2 separate regions of the Homo sapiens genome follow, and region 1 is linked to region 2. The links are contacts of gene promoters, found by promoter capture Hi-C in human tissues and cell types (Jung and others, 2019). All regions are on one chromosome and are shown on one strand. The core of a region is centred on a gene start or on the middle of the fragment in contact, and the rest is flanking DNA. Distances in the headings are between cores, read along the strand shown. Region 1 overlaps ARHGEF4 (Rho guanine nucleotide exchange factor 4). Region 2 holds the start of GPR148 (G protein-coupled receptor 148).

What was found. Contacts are between HindIII fragments. The study calls those that stand out against the background at their distance.
Region 1: a fragment that was not itself captured here is called in contact with the fragment with the promoter of GPR148 in region 2 in 3 of the 25 tissues and cell types used here (H1 embryonic stem cells, bladder and dorsolateral prefrontal cortex).

The regions. Positions count from the first base shown.
Region 1 is chr2:131,001,235-131,008,638 of GRCh38, reverse strand. All of the region lies in intron 4 of ARHGEF4 (Rho guanine nucleotide exchange factor 4), which reads right to left. Among named protein-coding and RNA genes, the nearest start is that of SMIM39, 30 kb to the left of the region's middle. The HindIII fragment of the contact is 6,362 bases long and covers 784-7,145 here.
Region 2 is chr2:130,727,588-130,734,062 of GRCh38, reverse strand. It overlaps GPR148 (G protein-coupled receptor 148), which reads right to left and starts at 4,993. Exons shown (of 1, transcript NM_207364.2): 1 at 3,727-4,993. The coding sequence starts at 4,911. The coding sequence ends at 3,868. RefSeq lists enhancers at 5,264-5,842, 5,843-6,422 and a silencer at 6,191-6,360. The HindIII fragment of the contact is 13,856 bases long and covers 1-6,475 here.

The DNA.
Region 1 (7,404 bases), core at 2,715-5,214, 280 kb before region 2:
ATCCAATTAATCCAAAACAAAACAGAAAAGGAGAAAAGGAGTAACACAAAGAACATGTGACAAAAAAAGAGGAAAATGACCAATGTAAGCCCAACTATATCAATAATCACATTAAAAGTTAATGGACTAAATACTCCATTTAAAAGAAAGAGACTGTTGTGATGGTAATGTTCTATTTCTTGATCTGGATGTTGGTTGCATGAGAATATCTACTTTGTGAAAATTCATCAAAACATACATTTATTATTGGTGCACTTTTATGCATGTGTATTATACTTCAAGAAAAGTTTTACAAAGAACAAATATGTTGATCCAATTGTTCTATTTTTAGGGTTTTATCCTAAGAAAACAAGTACTCAGAAAAGCACACAAGTATGTATTTACAAGTATATTGATTCCAGCATTGATTCTAATAGAAAAATATTACAGACAAACAAATTGAACATTATTAGGGGACTACTAAAATAAATTAAGGTACATTTATATAATGAAACACCATGTAGCCAATTCAAAAGAATAATTTAGGGGCCAGGTGTGGTGGCTCATGCGTGTAATCTTGACACTTTGGGAGCCTGAGGCTGGTGGATTACCTGAGGTCAGGAGTTCGAGACTAGCCTGGCCAACATGGCGAAACCCTGTCTCTACTAAAAATACAAAAATTAGCTGGGCGGGGTGGTGGGTGCCTGTAATCACAGCTACTTGGGAGGCTGAGGCAATGAGAATCACTTGAACCTGGGAAGCGGAGGTTGCAGTGAGCTGAGATCGTGCCATTGCACTCCAGCCCGGGGGATAGGGCGAGACTCTGTCTCCAAAAAAAAAAAAAAAAAAAAAAAAAAAAGAAAAGAAAAGAATAATTTAGCTTTATATTTATCAAAACTAAAGTCACTAAAAGCATATTATTAAATTAAAAAGTAGCTTACAAACCAGTATATAGAGTGTGATCTTATTTATGAAAAAATAATAAAAAGACAAACAATGAAAAGGCATAGATATACAAAAGGTTGCATACGAAATAGTTAACAGTATCTATTTTTGGATGGTAGGATTTCAGGTGAATTTAACTCTAATTATTTTCTGTTATGTTGGATTTGCCAAGATGAATATATTAGCTTCACAATCAGAAAAAGCAACAAACACGTTTATATTTTAAAATAATATCTGTGAAGAATGAATAAAAAAGAGGAAAATACCCTAGCCTATAAAAAGTAAGGAGAGCTTAAAAACTTGAGTGAAAAAGTAATAACTATCTATTTGAAGGTACCAGAAAGATATTAAAGAAAGAGGAAACTGCAGGGCTATGATGGAGGAGAGGAGAGGACAGGGACATAAATTCAGCATTTGGGCCACTTTCCCCTTAAGCACTGGCTGACTCCAGTCACAAGGATAGAGAAGCTGGAGGCTCCTTGGAATAGACACAGAGGCTGGGGACAGTCAGGGATCATAATGGTGCCCACCATCTAGAGTGAAGACATCTTCCACATAGAGGACTGAGAACATAGTAGGTCCATAAATTAATGTCACAGCAGTCTCCATGACAAACGCCTTTACTCTTTGCTGGATCCCTTCAATTAGAATTTCTTCTGCAATTTCACTGTAATTTCCTACACCCTATGCCTTGTATTTTGGTGGAAGATGTATGTCATTGTGACAGCCTTGCCTCAATCTTAAGCCACAGGGTGACCAATTTTACCTACAGTCCACCTCCCAATCCCTTACAAGTACCCAACTGTGTTCAGCAGGACCACCTGGCCTACTTTTGGCCCCATTTTATCCTTCGGACTTAGCCAATGACTTGGCCTTTTGCTTCCCTTCATGACTTGGACTTGGTCTTTCAGCCTCTCTTCAGACCAACTCCCCGCACCTAGGTGTTGGTACTTTGGTGGGTGGCCTCACCTAATCTGCTCTTTGCTTAACAGTCCCACTCCCCAGTCCAGGCAAGACCAGAGGGATAGGGCACAGAACCCCAAAAGCATAAAAGATGCCTAGGTAAGTGCTAAGATTCTACTCTGGAAGGATTTCCTGTTTGGGAAAATGGTGAGAATCTAGCATTAAAATGCAAATTAGCTCCCCATTCCCTAACTAGTGAATAGTAGACAAACGGCTCCTGGATGGCATTCCCTAATGGCTGACAGTCCCTCATCATCTTCTCAGTGACTGACAGCCAGCCAGCTCCTGGGCCGCTGCTAAGGCCCTGGGCCATGTGACTCCCACGGGCAGGGATGCATGTATTATTTTCCTATTGCTGCTGAAACAAATTACCCTGCATTTAGAGGCTTAACAGCACATACATTTGTTATCTGTTTCTGTAGGTCAAAGGGCTGGGCACAGTGTGGCTCAGTGGGTTCTCTGCTTGGAGTCACAGAGAGCCTAAATTAAGGTGTCATCGCGGCTGTGTCCCTTTCTGGAGGCTCTGCGGCTGAATCAACTCGCAGTCTCATTCAGATTACAGGCAGATGTAGTTCCAGAGTGCTGTCGGACTGAGGTCCCTGGGTGGCTGAATTGCCTTGTGATGCCCAGGGGCTATTACCATCTTCCAAGGATGACCAATGGCGGGGAACAGGTCTCCTCCCCACAATGGTGGGTTGAGTTCCTTCTCTTTCAATCTCTCTTAGCTCCTCTCCTGGCTTCTTCGGCTGCTTTTAAGGGCTCATATGATTATGCTGGACCTACCCAGATAATCCAGAACTATCTCCCTATGTTAAGGTCAGCTCATTAGCAACCTCAGTCCTATCTGCAAAGTCCCTTGCAGGAAGTTCCTAGATTTGTGTCTGGCTAACCAGTGGGCAGAGGTTTTGGGAGCATCCTGAGAATTCTGTCTACTACAGACACACCTTCCAGACCTTTTGCCGGGAAGCTGCCCAGCACCACGGGTCCCTGTGGTCCACGGCGCATCTCCCCCCAGTGCCCACACAGCCTGGCCCCTGGGGCGCTGGGCACTCCCGCCCCTCCCCTCCCACCTGAGGACACAGGCCAGCTCCCCTGCATCTTCTGCACGCTGCGGGGTACGTGGCCAAGCCCCTGGGACTGGGAAGACTAGGGCAGCCTGGGAAGCATCTCCAGGGTCCCAGCTTTTCTTAACATATAGAAATCTCACTCACAGATCTCAGATGCAAGTAAATGACCCCCAGAGGCGCACTTCAACACAGAACAGGACTGGGCAGTCTCCCATGTCAGGAGAAAGCTGGGACTTGGAGCCCCATGGGAGCCTGAGGACGGCAGGGAGTGGCTGTTGTGGGAGGGCCCTGCTGCTGGAGGGCAGCCCTGTGTGGGACACCCCATGTCATCGGTAGCTCACCGGGGAGGGCTTACCCTGGCTGCACTTCCCGATTTCTACCTGGATGTGAGGAATGAGGCCGAGCCCTCTTCAGGCTGCTGCTGTGTCCCTCACAGGACACAGTCAAGTCAGCTCTGCCCCCAGAGCGTGACAGATATCAGCCCACTGCTGACTGCGGATGGCTTCCAGCCCCATCCTCTTCCTCTCTTGCCCCATAACTGCAAAATCAATGCAAACCCCAGGCGAGGGGTGGCAGGACTCTCACCCTGGCTCCCTCCTCACCACCATACAGCCCTCAGCCATACTCAGCCACCCAGGGCCCCCTTTGCTGCAGCTGTTCCAGCTGGGCTGCAGTCTGCCCTGCTCTCACAGAAAGCCCCAGGGCACCAACCACAAGCTTTCCCCACCCTCCTGGTGTGTGTGTGGTGTTATCCTTCTCCACATCCAAACCAAACTTTGGAGGAGGGAATGGGGTTGCTCCTGTACCTGCCATGGGGCAGCCACAAAGCCACCTGCAAGCTATTTGCCCACACCAGACACTGGAGTAAATAAAACAGCAGAGATGTGGTTGCCAGAAGGGTTCAGCCAAAGTGTGTTGTGTCCCCAGGGCAGACTATTCTTCATCCTCTCCATCATTCACAGAGATCTGGACCTGAGTTCTGTGAGGCCGGGGTGGGACAGAGACACCACACCCTAGAAAGAGGGCTGAGGATGGCAGGCGCTCACGGCCGGGTCAGGCCTGGAAGGACCATCGAGGCCGGGCTGTGTGACAAGGAGGGCCGCACTCTGCCACCAAGTGGGCTTGGCCACCCATTCACCTCCCAGTGGCTGTCTCCTTACTTTGAGGAAAAGACAATTAGGGAGTGAAATACTTCCGAATGTGGTTTAAAAAACAGAGAGGGCTGGGTGCGGTGGCTCACGCCTGTAATCCCAGCACTTTGGGAGGCCAAGGCAGGGGGATCATGAAGTCAGGTGATTGAGACCATCCTGGCTAACACGGTTAAACCCCGTCTCTACTAAAAATACAAAAAATTAGACAAGCATGGTGGCGGGGGCCTGTAGTCCCAGCTACTCGGGAAGCTGAGGCAGGAGAATGGCATGAACCCTGGAGGTGGAGCTTGCAGTGAGTCGAGATCGTGCCATTGCACTCCAGCCCGAGCGACAGAGTGAGACTCCGTCTCAAAAAAACCCCAAAACAAAACAAAACACACCAACTAACAGAGATTCCTTGATTCCATAGGCATATGGAAGGCCTGCACCACACTGGCCCAGCTTCCTCCCTTTCTTATCTTTCCCAGAGGTGGGTCTGGTGTCCCCAGGGTGTGCAGGGGCTCTATGTAGGGAGTGAAGATCCTCCTATCCCCATCTCTCCCAACCAAAGATGCTCCTTTGGCTGCTGAAGGCTTAGGATTTTTTTAAAAGTCCTGTTTCGGTGAAAACTTGTGAAGGGTCCCTGTATAAATATTTCCAGGTCGTTATTACCCAGTTACCCTAGTTAAGTTCTTTCTAATTAAGCCCATCGATTTCAGAAAAGCCTACTTCCCAGAAGACTGATCTGAAGTCATTAGCTGACTGACATATCTAGGCTATGTTGTCAGATGTCATCTTTGCCCTGGCATTTCTGCATTTCAGGCTCGGTCTAGCAACTGCCATCACATACTATCCAAAGCAAGGCAGACTAAATGAGAGATCAGAAAGGATTATCCCTATCTTAACAGGAGTGTCACTCAGGCTGACCTCACGTACTGCGGGGCCATCTTCTTCCTCATTGACAGGCAAGTATGGACAGAGAAGCTTCCAGATTTTCACCCACCTGTCCACAGGCAACTCAGCCTGGTGCATCTAGGGACCCAGTGAATTGTGCCTTCCCATCAACTGGTGCTTACTAAGGGTCTCTGCCTTGGCCAGAACTCTGCTTAAAGAAGCTTCAGGGAATACTGCAGAAATGACGAGAGATGCGTGTCACGATCAAGAAGGAAGAAACTGGAATCCACTGAGTGGTCATCATGTGCCAGGAGCATTCATGTAGATCATTTCACTTCATACAGAAACAGTGTGGAACAGGAATGGCCATTGTTTTATAAATCAGGAACTGAGGTGCAGAGGGGGTGTGTCTTACGGCATGACCTGGACCTCTGGGTACAGAGTGCGTGCGGGATGGTCCTCCATTCCCCTGGCCTCGTCATGGCTCAGTGCTTTAGAGAGTTGATGCCTGAGGTAGAACAGCGAATGCCCCATCGTCAAGGTCACTGTTACTAACGCTGTTCATACCAGAGGCACTGCGGGACCTCCCAGAGCAGGGATCTTTGCTTGTTGCCCTCTTGTCCGAACAGTCCCTATCCTAGTGTCTTGCACAAAGTTGGGGTGCAAAAATATCTATTCAGCAAATGTAGTAATTAAAAGCCATCCCTGTTTATTCATTAAAACAGTTCCCTTTAGGTGACTACTTACAAAACCATAGGGCTAGGGTGCTCATTCTATGAACTCAGAAGTGTAAACCAACAATGTTGAAAAACTAATATAGGAAGCCGACCAACAGTTCATTCAGACTGTCCGTTCCAGCAGCGGAGGCTGATTTTACAAAGAGCAGTGAGCTCTCCTTCACCCCCAGCCCCCACAACCCTTTTTTTTTTTTTTTTTTTTTTTTTTTTTTTTGAGACGGAGTCTCGCTCTGTCGCCCAGGCTGGAGTGCAGTGGTGCGATCTCGGCTCACTGCAAGCTCCGCCTCCCGGGTTCACGACATTCTCCTGCTTCAGCCTCTGAAGTAGCTAGGACTACAGGTGCCTGCCAACACGCCCAGCTAATTTTTTGTATTTTTAGTAGAGATGGGGTTTCACTGTGTTAGCCAGGACGGTCTCGATCTCCTGACCTCGTGATCCGCCCGCCTCGGCCTCCCAAAGTGCTGGAATTACAGGCGTGAGCCACTACGCCCAGCTAATTTTTTTGTATTTTTAGTAGATGGGGTTTCACCGTGTTAGCCAGGATGGTCTCGATCTCCTGACCTCGTGATCTGCCTGCCTCGGCCTCCCAAAGTGCTGGGATTACAGGCATGAGCCACCGCGCCCGGCCCCTCACAGCTTTTTAAGTGTCTAATTCCAGGAGTAAAGAGATTAGCTACATATTAATCTTTTCAAAAATTATTTTGAGCATTAAAGCTTTTAAATTTTTAAACATTTTAAAGTCGGCAAGCTCCATGAAGACAGGGCATTGCGTGCACCTTGTTTACCACTGTACTCCAAGCATCCAGAACAGAGCCCTGCAGCCAGTAGATTCTCAGTAAGTATTTGTTCAATAAACGTAAACTAAACATACAAAAAAGTACAGAAAATAGAAAAGAAAGTATTCCGACGTAGCCATCCCAGAGATTAAACAAATGCCAGCATTTTGGCATATTTATTGCTTATCTCCCAAAATATTACCAGTGGAGCTGAAGCCTTGCCCCTCATGTTACCTCCCTAGCTTCCTCTCCAGAGGCAAATCTCTGTGCTTAAATTGTTCTGTACTATTCTCATGCATTTTCTATAATCTTACTAAATATGCACATATCCTAAGGTGTACTGTTATGTACTATTATTTGTGTCTTGTAGATTTACACAAATATGATCGTCCTACATGTATCCTTCTGAAGTCTGCCGTTTCCATGTTTCTTGGGTATAACCTCGAAGCCTCAGCACACAGCTGCCTGCTATGCATACATGGAAGAGTTTATCTAGGATACATAGAGAATCATGTTCGACTTTACTAGATACTGCCAAACTAACCTCTGAAGTATCTGTATAAATTTACATTTACTCACCATTTATAAGAATTCTGGACCCTGTACATCCTCACCAATACTTGGCATTCACACAACGCATCTGCCAATGTGAAGGGTATGGAATGGTTTCTCTTGTTGCTTCTCGATTGGCAGTTAGGTTGAACATTTGTTCACATATTCATTGATTATTCAGGTTCCTCTTCTAAGAACTGCCCATTTGCATCACATGCCCAGTGTTATGTTATCCGTCTTCCCGTTATCCATCTTCAGCTCTTTCTGTTTTTTTTTTTTTTTTTTTTTTTTTTGAGACACAGTCTCACTCTGTCGCCCAGGCTGGAGTGCAGTGGTGCAATCTCAGCTCACTGCAACTTCC
Region 2 (6,475 bases), core at 3,744-6,243:
TTTTTTTGTTTTCTTTTTTTTTTTAATTGATCATTCTTGGGTGTTTCTCGCAGAGGGGGATTTGGCAGGGTCATAGGACAATAGTGGAGGGAAGGTCAGCAGACAAACAAGTGAACAAAGGTCTCTGGTTTTCCTAGGCAGAGGACCCTGCGGCCTTCCGCATGTGGTCAATTTTCTTAATAATTCCAGGCATACTTATATATATTATGTATTTTCCAATAGTCAAGTGCCATATTTTAAATTTATTCACTAAGTCAAACTTGTCAATTGTGTTGTTCAATATTCAATATCCTTATTTATTTTGTCTGTTTGCTCTACCAGTTAGGGAGAGAGCACTCTTAAACTTCTCTATGAAAGTTGGTTTGTTAATTTCCCCTCAAAATTTTGTCAATGTTTGCTTTATAAATTTTCATTATCTTATTATGTTAATTTTATCTCCTTTGATAAATTGGAACTTATCATGTAGTCACCCTCTTTAGTAAGGCTGTTTTGCTTTAAATTCAGCTTTGTCTCTTCTATTGGCTTTCATTTAGCGAGTTTCTATCTTTTTTTTTGAGATGGAGTCTCGCTGTGTCACCTGGGCTGGAGTACAATGTCGCGATCTCAGCTCACTGCAACCTCCACCTTCCGGGTTCAAGCAATTCTGCCTCAGCCTCCTGAGTAGCTGGGATTATAGGTGCCCTCTACCATGCCTGGCTAATTTTTGTATTTTTAGAAGAGACGGGATTTCACCATGTTGGCCAGTCTGGTCTCGAACTCCCAACCTCAGGTAATCCTCTCGCCTCTGCCTCCTAAAGTGCTGGGATTGCAGGCTTGAGCCTCTGCACCCAGCCTGAGTTAAGTTTTGATTGGAGGATCCAGGAAAGGCTTTCTGTCTTTTTCTATACTCCCAACTATTGCTTTACTTCCACCCATTCTCTGTTGTTTGTTTAGCATAATCTCTTATAAATAACATATATCCAATTTAAAAGTAAATGGACAATATTGTTTCCCCACCATCAAATTTTAGTCATTTAAATTTATTGTTTTAGTAGATTTGAATTAGTTGTTTGGATTCTATCATATTACTTTATGCTTTCTATTTGTCCTGACTTTTCTATATATTTTTTCTTGCCTTCTTTTGGCTGAGTGATCTTTTCTCTTACTCATTTCATTTGTTCCTTAGATTATTTAGAGAGTGATCCTCGTTTTGTCTAGTCTGTTAGTGGTTACCTCATTTCAACTTGCATGCCTAACAAAGTCTTAGATTAATATCTCTACCTTCCTCCTGAAGACTGCTAGACTTTAGAATGCTTTAAGTACAATTACACCTTTCTGACACATATACCACTGTTATGTAATTCTTTTTTTCCATTTTTTCTAAACCGTTAAATTAGACTTTTTTTTTGGAGACAGAGTTTCACTCCTGTTGCCCAGGCTGGAGTGCAATGGCACAACCTTGGCTCACCGCAACCTCCGCCTCCGGGGTTCAAGTGAGTCTCCTGCCTCAGCTTCCCGAGTAGCTGGGATTACAGGCATGCGCCACCATCCCAATACAAAATTTTGTATTTTTAGTAGAAACGGGGTTTCTCCATGTTGGTCAGGCTGGTCTTGAGCTCCCGACCTCAGGTGATGGGCCCCGCCCCGGCCTCCCAAAGTGCTGGGATCACAGGCATTGAGCCACCATGCCGGGCCGAAATTAGACATTTTTATTGCTTTTATGTAGGCAACTAGACAATAACTATTCCTATTTATGTGCATAGTCTCCAGTGACTTTTCTATTTCTTCATACATCTCAAACCTTCCACCTGGAATAATTTTTCTTCTGCAACAAATACATCCCTTGAAGTTTTCTTAATGTGTATTGCTAGGAATACTGTCTTTCAGCTTTTGTGTTCTATCAAGGTCTGGAAAGGTTTTTCTGTATATAAAATTCTAGGAAGACAGTTATTTTCTCAGCACATTGGCAACATTATTCCAGTTGCCAAGGCTTCCATGTTTTTTGTTTGTTTGTTTGTTTTTTGAGATGGGGTCTCGCTCTGTCGCCCAGGCTGGAGTGCAGTGGTGTGATCTCGGCTCACTGCAACCTCCGCCTCCCGGGTTCAAGCGATTCTCCTGCCTCAGCCTCCTAAGTAGCTGACAGCACATGCCACCAGGCCTGGCTAATTATTATTTTTTTTTTTTTTTTGAGACGGAGTCTTGCTCTGTCGCCCAGGCTGGAGTGCAGTGGCGTGATCGCGGCTCACTGAAAGCTCCGTCTCCCGGGTTCACGCCATTCTCCTGCCTCAGCCTCTGGAGTAGCTGGGACTACAGGCGCCCGCCACCAAGCCCGGCTAATTTTTTTTGTATTTTTAGTAGAGACGGGGTTTCACCATGTTGGTCAGGCTGGTCTCTTCCATTGTTTGAGAAGTCAAGGTGAGTTTAATTGATGTTCTTTTGTCTTTTATCTCTGCCTGCTTTAAATATCTTGTCTTTGTATTTAGCTGTTTGCAGTTTCGCATCATGTGCTTCAACGTGGGTTATTGGTCATTTATCTTATTTATGATTGGTTAGATTTCTCGGATCTGAAGTTTGATATCTTTAAACAAATCTGAAAAAATCCTCAGCTGTTATCGCTTCAAATATTTCCCCTCCTACATTTTCTGTATTGTGTTCCCAAATTAAATGTATGTTAGTCTTTTCCATCCCAACCTCAATGTCTCTTAATCTCTCTTTTATATGGTTGTCTCTTTGTCCCTCTGGGCTGCATTTTAGGTAATTTATCTGGACCTCTCTCACAATTTGCAGAGTCTGTTTCCAGTTGTGTCTAACATGCTCTTTAATCCATATTAAATTCAACTCATAATTCTAATATTTTTGTTTCAAGAAGTTCTATTTAAATATTTTCCAAATTTTCTTGGTTATTTAAAAAAAAGTATTATCCCTGCTCATATTTTCATGTCATTATTAATGTCTTAAAACATCTTGAACATTTTTATATTAACCCAGTGTTGATAATTCAAGGAGCTGTGGTATGACGCTGCTGTCTTCTTGTTTCTTCTTGCTCTCATTCATGGTGCCTTATCTCCCTATGTGGTTTTGTGAGATTTGACCATGTGCAACTCCATTATTTGAGGTTCTTTGACTCTGGAAATTCTCTGCAGCCTAAGGTGAAGCTCAGATCGTCCAGGAGAACCACACCAACCACAGACTGAGGTCTTTTTACCACTAACATAATTTGAAGCCTAGCTCTAAAACTGTCTGAAGAGTGGCTTCTACTTAAGAATTCTCGAGGAATTTTCTTCTTCTACACAGCACGAAAGTCAAGGCAGGCAAACTCCCTTGCTGACCCCTTCTGTAAGGTTAGGTTATCATTTACCTTTATTGTGAGAGTGTAACCCTTGCACACTCCAGCTTTATAGTGGTATCTCCATGACACTCTCCACTGCTGTGGATCGTTGGCTTCCTTTCCTCCCTCCCACATCCTGAGCGGCTGCTCAGATAGAGCTCATGGTCCCAGGACTCAGCAGCTCTGCTTGCTTACCTCTGTGGTTCTCACTGTCAGCAACATTTTGGCTTCTGTGTGTTGGTCAGCAAGGATGCATCCACAGTGGCCAGGGAGGGTGTGCAGCAAGCCATTGGAGGGACGCAGATCAAGGCTTGACTTAGACCAGAGCCCTGCTTGATTGCCTTTACTTGCTTCCGTTTCCAAGTAGGATTTCAGTGTCATAAGAGAGCTTTCTCTACTTAAAAACTGTCAAAATGGTGAAAATCATCAGTTGAGGTCTTCTGAAAGGCCCAATTCCACTATTATATTGTGCTGTTCTAAGAAGTTAGTCATAAGTGGACACTGCTGCATTCAACATATGATTTTTAACCTCAGCTTGCCAGACTGTGGACTCAAGAACTCTAGGAAATGGTAAAGATGGCCTGGTGCCTCCTGGATGGGAGGTGGCCCCGGACCATGCCCAACAGCTGCCGGTAGCGGAGCAGGTACAGGTATGTGAGCATGGCACGGGGAAGCATCATGAGTACCTCACTGTTAGCTGCCAGGAGCCATGTGTGAGTCCCAGAGTCAATGTGGTGGTACCTGGTCAGCACCATGTCCAGGGAGAACACCACCCCTGTGCTCACGTACAATGTGATCAGCACTGAGTGGATCAGCAGGGTGCCCCTGGCCCGGGAATAGCCCTGCCCCCAGATGCCTGAAGTCTTGGCCTCTGCATAGATCCTCCAGAAACAGTTGGCAATGAGAGCTGTGCAGAGGAACAGAACGCACAGAATGGAGGTGTAGGTAACAATGACCAGGAGGCCACATCCCGGCTGGGTGCCCATGCTTGGTGGTAGGATGTATGAAGCTCCTTGCTCCTCCAGCTGGGCATCCTGCCACTTGCTGAGCCAAATAAGGAATGTGGGGAAGCAGCAGGCCACCAGCCAGATGAGGGCCACTGCCTTCCAGGCAGCCCCATGGGACATGAAGGAGAGGTAGCGCAGTGGATGGATGACTGCCAGGTAGGTGTGCAGCACAATGGCGGTGAAGGACAGGATGGTGCTGGTGCAGGCGGCGAAGACAGCATCAGTGAGAATGCCACAGGCCATGCGGCCCAGCTCCCAGCCACCCAGGCTGCTGGAGGAGATGAGCATGTGGAGGAGAATGTAGGCCAGGTCTGAGAGCAGGATGTTAGCCGGGAGCAGGTAGTGGGGCTCCTGTCGCAGCCGTTGGTTCCGCAGGATGGTCACCAGCAGCAGGGGGCTGACAGCCAGTGTGGCTGCAGCCAGCAGGCTTGAGGGAAGGAAAAGCCAGTACAGCATGGAGCTGGGCACCCTGAGGTCCCCCAGGCCCAAGGAAGTGTTGCTGGCTGCTTGGGGCATGCAGGGTGTCTTGCTGATGAGCTGGATCAGGGCCGGCCAAGCTGTAGTGCCCACAGGGCAAGGTGCCAGCTCATCCCCCATGCTTCCTGGCAGGGATGGCTGGCTTTGTCACAGGTTGTTGATTCTGCACCTGCCTTGAGTGTTGATCTGCCCCACAGGGGTCCTGATGGCACCACTCCTCTGTAGAGATGCCAGGCTCGGGCAGGCCTTAGGAATGACTGCTTAATAAAGATAAAAAAACCAATGTGAATTCAGACTCACACCTGGCTTCCTGCATTCACATCTCTGCAACTGTGCAGCTGCATGTGCGTGGGTAGACATAACAGATCATCCCACTGCCACCATTTTGCAGTCACTGACCCCTCCAGAAGTGTCCCCTATCTCAGTGGCCCCCAAACCTGTCTGCTTGGCTCACAGGGAGTGTGCAATGGATTCTCACCACACTGGATTATATTCCGGGCTGCCCTCCTAGAAAGGAAGGAGCAGCTGTCTGGAACTAGGATCGCTGGGCTGTAGACCTGGTCTGACCTCTGTCGAGCTAGAGGCTCAGCAAATTGGACCAGGCTGGAGGGGCCTGGGCGCACTCACATTTCCTCACAGAGCCTTGGGTATGGTCTCCAGCTCAGGGTGACCCTGTGCATGCGTGTGAGTGTGACTCCTACACCCCTTCCACTCAGGGCTCCATGTGAGTATTCGGTGCCCCCAAAATCTCAGCTGACTTGTGGGGTCGCTGTGTGGTAGAAACGTCCCTTCCTCTGGGGAGGAGGAGGCCTGGCAGGCAGAGACCTCATAGGAGCTAGTGGGGAGGAATGGAAGGCAGGTTCCCCAGGCACCTGGCTTGTCGGGGGTGGGGTGAGCTCAGTCAGAGCCAGTGGCCAGGGTGGCTGTTGGTGTTTGGGGATCCAGTTCAAGTGAACAAGCTCTCCCGCTCTCTCGAGGTGTTGGCTGCGTGGCCTTGAAAAGCTTTGTTCCAGTTTCCTTATCTGTGAAACACGAATGCCAACCACACTGACCTCAGGGAAACGTTGCGGAAGCCCAGAGGTAAGGGACTCAGCACAGTGCATAGCCTGAAGTAAATGCTGAGTCAATGTTAGCTCTCCCACCTACAGCATCCTCCGAGGCTCGGTCCCCTCTGCCCACAGATCCCTGTCATCACTGCAGAACGGGCTGCACTTGGCTGCTGGCAGCCTGAGACCCCTGCCCAACACCCACCGCCGGCCTGGCAGACTGCTCCAGAAGGCAGGAGCCGCGTGGGAACAGGCAGGATATTTTTAGGGCCAGGAAGAGGCAGAAATTTCAGACTCTGGGTGTGAGACCACGTCCACTGCTGCCCAGGGACCATGCTCGTCACAGCCCGAGACCACGTCCACCGCAGCCCAGGGACCACGCCCAGAACCGCCCCTGACCACGTCCGCCGCAGCCCGGGGACCACGCCCGCCGCAGCCCGGGGCCACGCCCACCACAGCCCCGGACCACCATCATCGCAGCCCTGGGACCACGCCCTCCATAGCCCAAGGCCACGCCCATCACAGCCAAAGACCACGCCCAGAACAGCCCCGGACCACGCCCGCCGCAGCCCGGAACCGCGTCCTCCTCTGAGAGCCTGTTACGCAGCTGCCAGGAGCAGCAGCGCCTGCGCCTTTTT